Linked DNA regions of Homo sapiens: regions 1 and 3 are each linked to region 2. Evidence: promoter capture Hi-C in human tissues and cell types (Jung and others, 2019). All regions are on one chromosome and are shown on one strand. Each heading gives the region's core, a stretch centred on a gene start or on the middle of the fragment in contact. The rest is flanking DNA. Distances are from core to core; before and after follow the strand shown.

Region 1 (3,255 bases), core at 564-3,063, 170 kb after region 2:
ATTTTTTTTCCACTTCATGCAAAATTCACTTATTTATCACTAGCGGCCTCTAGTGTATATTCAATTTTTTTTTCTGCTCGACTATACATTAGTTGGTTATTAGTAACTGGAGAGCTGTTCCATGTGTTAGGAACAAGAAAAACAACTCCAGTTTGTGTCATCTTGGCATTTTATCAGTCAGTAAAAAGAACATTTTTGCATAATAGTGTGGTCTTATGATTCCTATTAGCAGTAATAGGGCTTTCCCAGCGACTTTTCTCCATGTGGCAGTTGCTTGCCAAAGCTTAATTCTGATGTGGGAGGAGAGAGTTAGTGATTATGCATTACACTGATGCCCTCTAATGCTTTTAATAGGATGCAATCAAGTAAGAATACAGGAGGCAAGGATTATCAAAGTGAGATTTTAGCCAAATTGTGTGACAGAAATCTGAACTGAACTTATTTATTTTAATTGAGCTTATTTGTTCAATTTTAAATAAAACCGTATTCAAGTAATTTTTGATGCAGTCATAATTACAAAATATATAAAGATAAATTAAACACCTCGAATTTGTATCATTTAGTATTTACCTTTCTTTTAAACTTTATATATTTTAAAAGGCAAATTCTCTGCTATCGCCTCTAACTTTTCCCCCACCTATGGACATAGGATTATTATAATGAATTTGGGGAATAGAGGAAGACATAAAGAAAAAAGTTAAAATAACCTAAAATCCCACTTCTATAGATAACGTCTGTTAATATTTTTACATATATAATTTTTTTCAATTTTACATTTTTGTATGTTTATTGCTCTGTGTATGTATGTGTGTACATGTAATGAAATACAGATTTTTATCTATATATTGCTTTATATCATGCCTGTTTTTAACATTATATTATGAACATGCTACCAAGTCATTATATATAAATTTTGTTACATTTTTATCTCTCAACCATTCTCCATATATCAGAAAGTTATGTAGCTCATAAGTTGTGTGTTTTTTTTTTTTTTGAGACAGAGTCTCACTTTGTCACCCAGGCTGGAGTGCAGTGGCGCAATCTTGGCTCACTACAACCTCTGCCTCCCGGGTTCAAATGATTCTCCTGCCTCAGCCTCCTAAGTAGCTGGGACTATAGACGTGCGCCACCACGCCCGGCTAATTTTTGTATTTTTAGTAGAGACGGGGTTTCGCCAGGCTGGTCTCAAACTCCTGACCTTAGGTGATCCACCCACTTTGGCCTCCCAAAGTGCTGGGATTACAGGCGTAAGCCACTGCGCCCAGACAGCTTATAAGTTTTTTATAAGTAAATCTTTGGTAAATAAAACTTTGTTAAGTATTATAAAAACATTAAGTAGTATTATAAGTGTATGAGTTTGTGACACTTACAGTAGTTTCACAGACGTTAAGACATGCTCCAGAAGTTATAAATTTTAAAAAATGTATTTAAGTCTAAGTTGACAACTTGCTTTCCAGAATATTGTTGCTTAAGTTAACCTTCATCAACAGTATAAGACAATTTACATTTCTCTCTGCTCTTGCCAGATTTATTAACTTAAGTTTTTTTGATATATTATGTAGGAAATCATATTCCATTATTATTTTAGCATATTTTAATTATGGAGTCATTCTATATAACAGGCATTATTGTAGTCACCTATGATGCAGCGGAGAGCAAAATACTTGACTTCATTGACCTCCCATAGAGGAAATAAGCAAGACAAATAATTAAAATATTAAGTATATTACTAGTGAGAAGGAGAATAATAACGCAGGAGAAGAGGTAGCATGCTTTGCAGTAGGTTGTTAGCAGTTAAAGTGAGGGAGAGCCTCACTGAGCAGGTGACTTCTGAGTTAAGACCTGCAGGGGGTGGAGAAGCAAGCCATTTGCTCAGCCAAAGGAAGAACCTTCCAGGAAGTGGGGATGCTTGTGCAGAGGCCCTGAGACATGAGAATGATATCAGTTAGCTTTTGCTGTATCATAAGCTACCCCCAAAATTAATGGCTTTAAACACTGATTTATTTATTTACTCACAAGTCTAAGGTCAGCTAGGCAGATCTTGTGGGCTCATTCATGTGCCAGTTACGTGGGTTGGTAAAGGAAAACTGTTCCTGTACTCACAACACTTCTGCCACTAAACATCTGGGTTTTATACATCAAACAATTTGCCAGTTGTCTGTGGCCACCAACTGGGTGTCCGACAATTTAATTCAATCTGACATTATTCAGAGTAAGCACAGACCACCACCCTCCAACACACACACAGGTAAAGGACTTAGTCCTACTAGATTGCCATGCACTTTAAATGCCAGTTGCAACTAGTGGGTCCCCAGAACTCCCTCCTCGTGTTTGGTAATTTGCTATAATGGCTCACAGAACTCAGGGAAACACTTATGTTTACAATTTATTATAAAAGGATGTTATAAAGGATGAATGTGAACAGCCAGCTGATGTGGTACAGAGGGTGGGATCTGGAGAAGTCCTAAGGCAGGAGCTTCTGTCCCCCTTGGCTTTGGGATACACTACCCTCCCGGCATGTGGATATGTTCCCCAACCTGAAAGCTCTCTGAACCACATTGTTTAGGGTTTTTAAATGGGGGTTCTGTTACATGGGCATGATTGATTACATCATTGGCCATCGGTGATTAGCATAATCTGTAGCTCCACTGGGAGTGGTGGGTATGAACGTTCCACACTCTGATCATGCCTTTGTCTTTCTTGGGTATCAGCCTCCAACTTGAAACTCTCCTCGAGGCCCCCAGCCACCAGTCATCTCATCAGGACACCGAAAGACACCCATTACTGTGGAGCTTCCAAGGGTCTTGGCAACTCTTTTATCGGAAACGAGAGGTGAAGACCAAATGTATATTTCCTCTTATATCATGATATCACAGTTGGGTAGGCAGTTTTGTTGATGATGTCAGCATGTAGAAAGGACCCACATGTTTAGAGGTTGGATGTCTGTAAGCTGTACCTGACTCCAGTCTCATCCTCCATCCATCAGGCATGCTCAGAATTACTCTCATGGTAACAGGGGAGGGTTCCAAGAGAGCAAAGGGAAGGCTGCAGCTCCACTTGAAGCCTCTATTCCTAACTGCCATGCTGTCACTTCTACTGCATTTTTTAAGTGAAAGCAGGTTTCAAGGCTAATACAAATTATTGAGGTGGGGAAAGGGATGCATATTAATAGCTTGTGATGAAACAGTCTGGAAAGTCACATTATAAAGGGGTATAGATTGGGAGGAGGAAATAATTATGGATAATTGTGCAAAC
Region 2 (3,164 bases), core at 665-3,164:
CTTATCTTGGTGAGACACACTGTGTGGCTGGAGAAATAGCAGGGAAGGAAATAGACAAGGCTCCTGCCCTTAGAGAGCTAGCTCTCTAGTAGGGGGAGACAAATCATTAACAAGTAAACTGTGCTAGAGTGAGGATTCAAGGGCCAACAACTAAATTTTGGTCCTTGTTTTCCTGGAGCCTACATTTTAGGGTAATTAAATAAAATATAAAAGACCTCAACACTGACTGGAACATAATAATTGATCAGTAAGTGTAAATTTTTATTACTGCTTAAAAAATTGGTTACAATCTGCCATTGAATTCATTGTTCAAGATTTCGTTCTGAATATTGGTGATGTGTTTTTGCCATTTGACTACCTTCTATAATTTGCCTTGCCTGTTTATATCCTTGGTCATAATTTTTCTGGTTTGCCTTTTACTAATGGACATGTAGTTCTGAGGCAGAATAGGGTCTGGAGGCAGGGAATGTTAAGGCCGATTCATGCTGACTTCCTGGAACTAAATCAAATTGCAGTACTTCAGCAATGACAGGAAACATCCTCTCCATTTACACAGGGCTTATATCCAGTAAATGACTTTAAAATTTACTTCATCCTCTTCATTTACATAGGGCATAAGCCAAGTAACCAATGGAAACCTCTAGCTGGCATTTAAACCCCAGAACATTCTCTAACGGCACTCTTGAGCCCCTATCCTCGGGCGCTCCCAACCTATGGGGTGTACTTTCATCTTCAATAAATCTCTGTTTTTGCTTCATTCTTTCCTTGCTTTGTGCGTTTTGTCCAATTCTTTGTTCAAGACGCCAAGAACCTGGACACATCAACTGGTAACAGCTCTTCATAGGATAAACACATGGCAACCACTTGTCTATTACATGTGCAGATAGTTTCCTTGTACCCCAATTGTCTTTTAGGTTCATTAAGGTCATATTTAAACATGGACTTTTGAAATTTGTTGTAGCTAAACCCGTATATAAGCATTTAGGCTTCCTCCTTCTTTGGGTCTTTTCTTGTGGACTCCCATGCACATAGCTGTAAGCTTTTCCCCTGTTAAACTGTCTTAAGTCAATTTAACCTCTTAGGCCCAGGTGGAAACCTTAAGAGGGTAGAGGGAGATTAGGTTCGCTCACTATTGGAAAAGCCTGTATTGCAACAGTGACGCTCTGCAGCTGCAGATAGGTGGCTTAAAGTTTCTTCCAACAAAAACATTCTGTTTCCACAAAGCAAAGTAAGGAAAGCTCTTAACGGAGTGTTCCCTAAAGAAAGCTTTTTTTTTTTCTTTGAGATGGAGTCTCGCTTTGTCGCCCAGACTGGAGTGCACTGGTGTGATCTTGGCTCACTGCAACCTCCGGCCTCCCGGGTTCAAGCGATTCTCCTGCCTCGGCCTCCCGAGTAGCTGGGCCTACAGGCGCGCGCCACCATGCCCGGCTAATTTTTTGTATTTTTAGTAGAGACGAGGTTTCACCATGCTGGCCAGGCTGGTCTCGAACTTCTGACCTCATGATCCGTCCGCCTCGGCCTCCCAAACTGCTGGGATTACAGGCGTGAGTCACCGCACCCGGCCAGGAAGGAAAGCTTTTAACCCGACGGCTCAGGGAGGACACCGGTAGCAGGACTAGAAGCAGCACAGTGGAAAGTAAGTTTGGCTTGGAAGCTAGGTCAAGCATGGGTGATAGGGAATTCGCCACTTAGTTTGAAGCAAATGGCCTCCTTGTTAAAGCTGAGTGCAGAGGGCCCGGCAGCAGTACTACAGCTAGCAGAACCAGCCCAGAAAACGAAGCCTTGGAGACTTGAGGTGGGTAGTGCCGGACGCAGAGCACAGGGCGCGGCTCCCACTTGCCTCCGGCTCCCGGAAGCGGGCGGGGCCACCTCGCGTCCCGGGGGCTAAAACCTGCGAGCGAGGACCGCGCGCCAAGGCTCCTCAGCCGAGCGCCGAGCGGTCGATCGCCGTAGCTCCCGCAGCCTGCGATCTCCAGTCTGTGGCTCCTACCAGCCATTGTGTAAGTGCGACTGCTGCCGGGCGCGCGGGCCGCGGAAGGGGGCGGCCGCCTCTCGCTCCCCAGGTTCCCGGATGGTGATGGGTTCGCGGAGAGAGGCGGCAGGGGCAACCCCTCGGACCTCATAGCGGCCCGCGCGGCCGGTCTCCGGGGGCCCCCGCCCGCGGCGGTGCTGTAGGCGAGCCGTGGCGGGTCCCCAGCGCCGGGTGCTGCGCCGCAGCTCAGCTGGCTCCTGGGTCCCGGAGCGCGCCGCTGCCGAGTGCCAGGTTCAGGCGGCTCCCGTGCTGTTGGTTCTGCGCGATGTTTAATTAAAACTGAGAGTCTAACTTCACTTTTTTTTTTTTAATGCAGAGGCCAATAATCCGTTATGGAGCATGCCTTTACCCCGTTGGAGCCCCTGCTTTCCACTGGTACTGTATTTCTTTCCACGGTTTAGTGTCACTGACGTGCCCCTCCCCAGCGACGGGAACAGGTCGAAAGGACGGGGCTCTAGAGCCAGCGTGACTTCCAGCCTGGGTTCTGTCCCTGATTTCCTAGCTCTGTACCGCTAAGCATATCAGCCTCTCGCCGGTCTCATTTTCCTCATCTGAAAAATGAGCTTACGTATCAGTCCTTGCTGTGAGGACGAAATGACAAGATACAGTGTGTGTAGTCCGTGTGGAGCCCAGTAAGCGCTTCCCGGCTGTTGCGCCTCCACCAACAGCGCGAACAAATCTGGAACATAGCGGAACATTAGACATTGCAGGCATTAAGGACGGTCATCGTTGCCTGACCGTGATGCATTTTTAATCCATTGAAAGTGCCCCGAGCTTATCTAATAAAAGATTGGCAAATGATTATATCAAGTGTTTTAAATCTATATAACACTCAGGATATTTTATTCTTCTAAGATTTGAAATTACTGTGTAACCGAGTTCAGGCTGGGCTGCTCGCTGCTTGCAGAGCCAATCAACAAGGACGAAGGGCCCGGAAAGGAAAGTGACTACTTTCCAAAGCTAGCAATGGGGAAGTAGTCCAAGCTTCTGCCTTAACGAAACCATTTCAAATTTGGACAAAATGTAAGAGCTTATAAAGGGGCGCTTGGTATTGGGGCTCGGGGGCCCCAGTCTACGTGACTTGCTCAGATATTTATCTTGGGTTTTTGCCTCATCTGGTGAATGGGCTGGC
Region 3 (3,238 bases), core at 455-2,954, 180 kb before region 2:
TTTTTGACAGCATTGAGCTTTATTGCTTTTTATTTTTTGATAATGTGATGAGCAAAAAGTAGAAGCTCATTTTTTTTAATTTACATTTTTCTGCTACAATGGAGGTTGAATATCATCTACTGATTTACTGGCATTTGGGTTTCCTTCTTACCTGAGTTTCCTGTTTGTATACTTATACTTTGCCTCTTGTCTGTTGACTGTTCTCTTTTTCTTATCAATGCTTTTGGTAAACTCTATATATTAACGCTTTATCTGACAGAAATACTGTAATTATTTCCCTGAGACTATTGCTTTTAGCTTAATTTTGCTTATATATTTTTTCTGGGCTTATATACCTTTTAATCTTTAGGGAGTTTTTAAGGTTCATGGGTTTGTTTTCTTGCTTAAACAAATATTCTTTAAGATATTTAAAAATGTTTTTCTATGTTTTCTTCCAAACTTCTTATTTTTTAATATTTAAACTACTATCTATGTTACATTTCAATTTCTACATAATGTGAGGCAGGACAATATGCTCGTATTTTTTTCAATTGAACAGCCATTTTTGCTAGCACCGCTTATTAGAGAAACCATCTGCTTCAATAAATGAACTGAAATGCAACAGTTGTCACATATCACATTTCTGCATATAGTAGATATATTTCTGGTTCTCTTCTACTAATCTGTTTACCTATTCCTTTGCTATTATCTTTCTTTTATTCTAGTGACTTTGTAATCAGCTTTAGTATCTGACAAGCCAAGAACCCTAACACTATTTGATTGTTTCATAATTTGGGAAGCCATTTTCTAATATTTATCCATTTTAGTTTTAAACATGATATTCTATTTTTTAAAAAAAGTGAAGTAGCACTTTGTTAAATGTTTATATTTATTTGAAAATAGAAAATAAATGTTCTGCATCCTGAAACATGGTATGACTTGAAACTTTATTTAGATCTTTTTCCCTTAATACAATGTATAGATTTCTCTTTGGAGATACTGATCAGTCTTTTAAAATTTATTCCAAAGTATTTTATAGTTTTGTCAGCATTTTATTGTTTTTCATTTTCAATTCAAACAAACTGTTTTCAGTATAGATAAGACGTATGAGTTTTGTAAGGTTATTCTTTATCCAGCTAGCTTATCATCTTCTCTTATTAATCTTAGTAGATTTTTACTAGGGTATATATCCATAAGTCAAAGATAAAACAACCAAAGAAAAAATATTTGTAACAATATGACAGATAAAAGATATATTTCTTTAACATACAGAAAACTCTTACAAACCAATAAGAAAAAACAAAAATGTAATCGGAAATCCTATAAAGAGCATAAAAATGTAACCACAAAAGGCAAACACAAAGAAAAACAGAAGTAGCTTATAAACATTTCAAACAATACTAAAACTCATGACATTAAAGAAACGCAAATTAAAACTAGAATCAGATTAACAAAAATTACCGCTAGATTAGCAAACATTTTAGTTGGATATCATATAGCTTTTAAATGGCAATAAGACTGAAGTATTCTCATCAGCACTCTTAACGGTAAATTCAATTTAAATTACATTTATGTTCAATAGGTACTACCTATTTGGAGAGAAATTTACCAATATTTATAAAAATGTTAAATTCATGTACCTGCCAATAATAAATATACATTATAAATTTCCAAAACAGAATCTTTTGCATAAAGAATGATTAACTAGAAATCTCTGATGTATCTAAGAACTATCAATAAATCAGCTTAGAGCATAAACATTCCTATAGAGCAGGGGCAAAACACAGATTGAAAACAAAGACAAGAATGAGATTGTGTAATGGAAGAAGAGCAGTATATTCCTTTTTCAGTTCCAAAATGTCTGGGAGGACCCGTAGTGCAGTGCATTATCAGAACAAATACATTTCTACTAGATAGCCACTGAAGCACACAAAGTAACAAGAATGCACAGATATTTCCTTCACTCCTTACAAATGCACCCTTTATGCCTAAAAAATAGCTACTTCACTCTGAATACTCTCCTCGCTTTCTTTCATGCCCCTTGAGCCTCCTCTACTGGTCGTCCTTGACCCTAGGGCTCCAGGCTCTAACTTGAAGGAGTTACATAAGAGGCTCTGCTGCTGTTCAATGGAAATTCAGTGAATCACTAGATGGGATGGGATAGATACTTAAGAGTAGAGCCATTGTAAAATATAAAACCTTTCTCTCTTGGCTGCCTTTCACAGCATAAGTCAGCTGCATTATTCTATTAAAAAGTTTGCTCACGCCTGTAATCCCAGCACTTTGGGAGGCCGAGGCGAGCGCATCACGAGGTCAGGAGATAGAGACCACGGTGAAACCCCGTCTGTACTAAAAATAAAAAAAATTAGCCGGGTGTGGTGGCGAACATCTGTAGTCCCACCTACTCGGGAGGCTGAGGCAGGAGAATGGAGTGAACCCGGGAGGCGGAGCTTGCAGTGAGCCGAGATCGCGCCACTGCACTCCAGCCTGGGTGACAGATCCAGACTCTGTCTCAAAAAAAAAAAAAAAATTTGCATACTTATTCCAAAGGTGTACTCCTTGCATAAGGAAGGAATGAATACAGGGTCTGAAAGGAGAAGCGAAACTAAAGCTTATCTTGCCACATCATACTCTGTGGAATGGAGTAAAATATATTAGAGACCAGGATCTTACTGTTATTTGGCTGCTTTCATATATTTCAGCTTCTTCTGCTCTTAAAAAAAAAAAAAAAAAATTCACCTGGGCCCTGGAACGTTCAGTCAGATTCTTCCTATTAGTAACTGAGCCAGGTGTCGACCATGGAAAAGCTGGGAATAAAGGTAATTCTGGAATGCTATTCTCATGGCTGGTAGAGCAATGACTTGGCTGCTCTGGGAGCTGGATTACTGCAGACTGCTGAGGAGTTGCCATGATTCCTTCCCACCTGGGAATAGCACTTCAATAGCTGGTAAAGATGCAAAGTCTGGCCAGGACACAGCAGTGGACCAAGTTCACCAAAGCTGACCTCCAAGGAAAAACTCCAAGTTCCAACAATTAAGATAATAGTAGAGTAAACTGAAAAGCTATTTCATTTTTTAAATGGGTGCTTTTATACAGATACTGAAGGAGAACAAGATATTTCAAAGCTTGAAGATTAAGTCCGCAGAGACCATGAATGATGGAAAACCTGTGTGGTTTTTTTTTCACCTCTGTAGATATAAAAATGCATGTACCCTTCAACTCACTAGAGTCATTTGACCTATTTCTGTACATTGTGCTT

Evidence for each region. Contacts are between HindIII fragments. The study calls those that stand out against the background at their distance.
Region 1: a fragment that was not itself captured here is called in contact with the fragment with the promoter of TPK1 in region 2 in 1 of the 25 tissues and cell types used here (hippocampus).
Region 3: a fragment that was not itself captured here is called in contact with the fragment with the promoter of TPK1 in region 2 in 2 of the 25 tissues and cell types used here (mesendoderm cells and thymus).

Annotation. Positions count from the first base shown.
Region 1 is chr7:144,667,303-144,670,557 of GRCh38, reverse strand. The region is part of intron 4 of TPK1 (thiamin pyrophosphokinase 1); the gene reads left to right. Among named protein-coding and RNA genes, the nearest start is that of TPK1, 170 kb to the left of the region's middle. The HindIII fragment of the contact is 3,383 bases long and covers 122-3,255 here.
Region 2 is chr7:144,834,803-144,837,966 of GRCh38, reverse strand. TPK1 (thiamin pyrophosphokinase 1) reads left to right here and starts at 1,914. Exons shown (of 9, transcript NM_022445.4): 1 at 1,914-2,000; 2 at 2,349-2,407. The coding sequence starts at 2,365. RefSeq lists an enhancer at 1,704-1,773 and a silencer at 2,074-2,173. The HindIII fragment of the contact is 4,228 bases long and covers 1-2,296 here.
Region 3 is chr7:145,015,070-145,018,307 of GRCh38, reverse strand. No RefSeq gene overlaps it. Among named protein-coding and RNA genes, the nearest start is that of TPK1, 180 kb to the right of the region's middle. The HindIII fragment of the contact is 4,293 bases long and covers 1-3,238 here.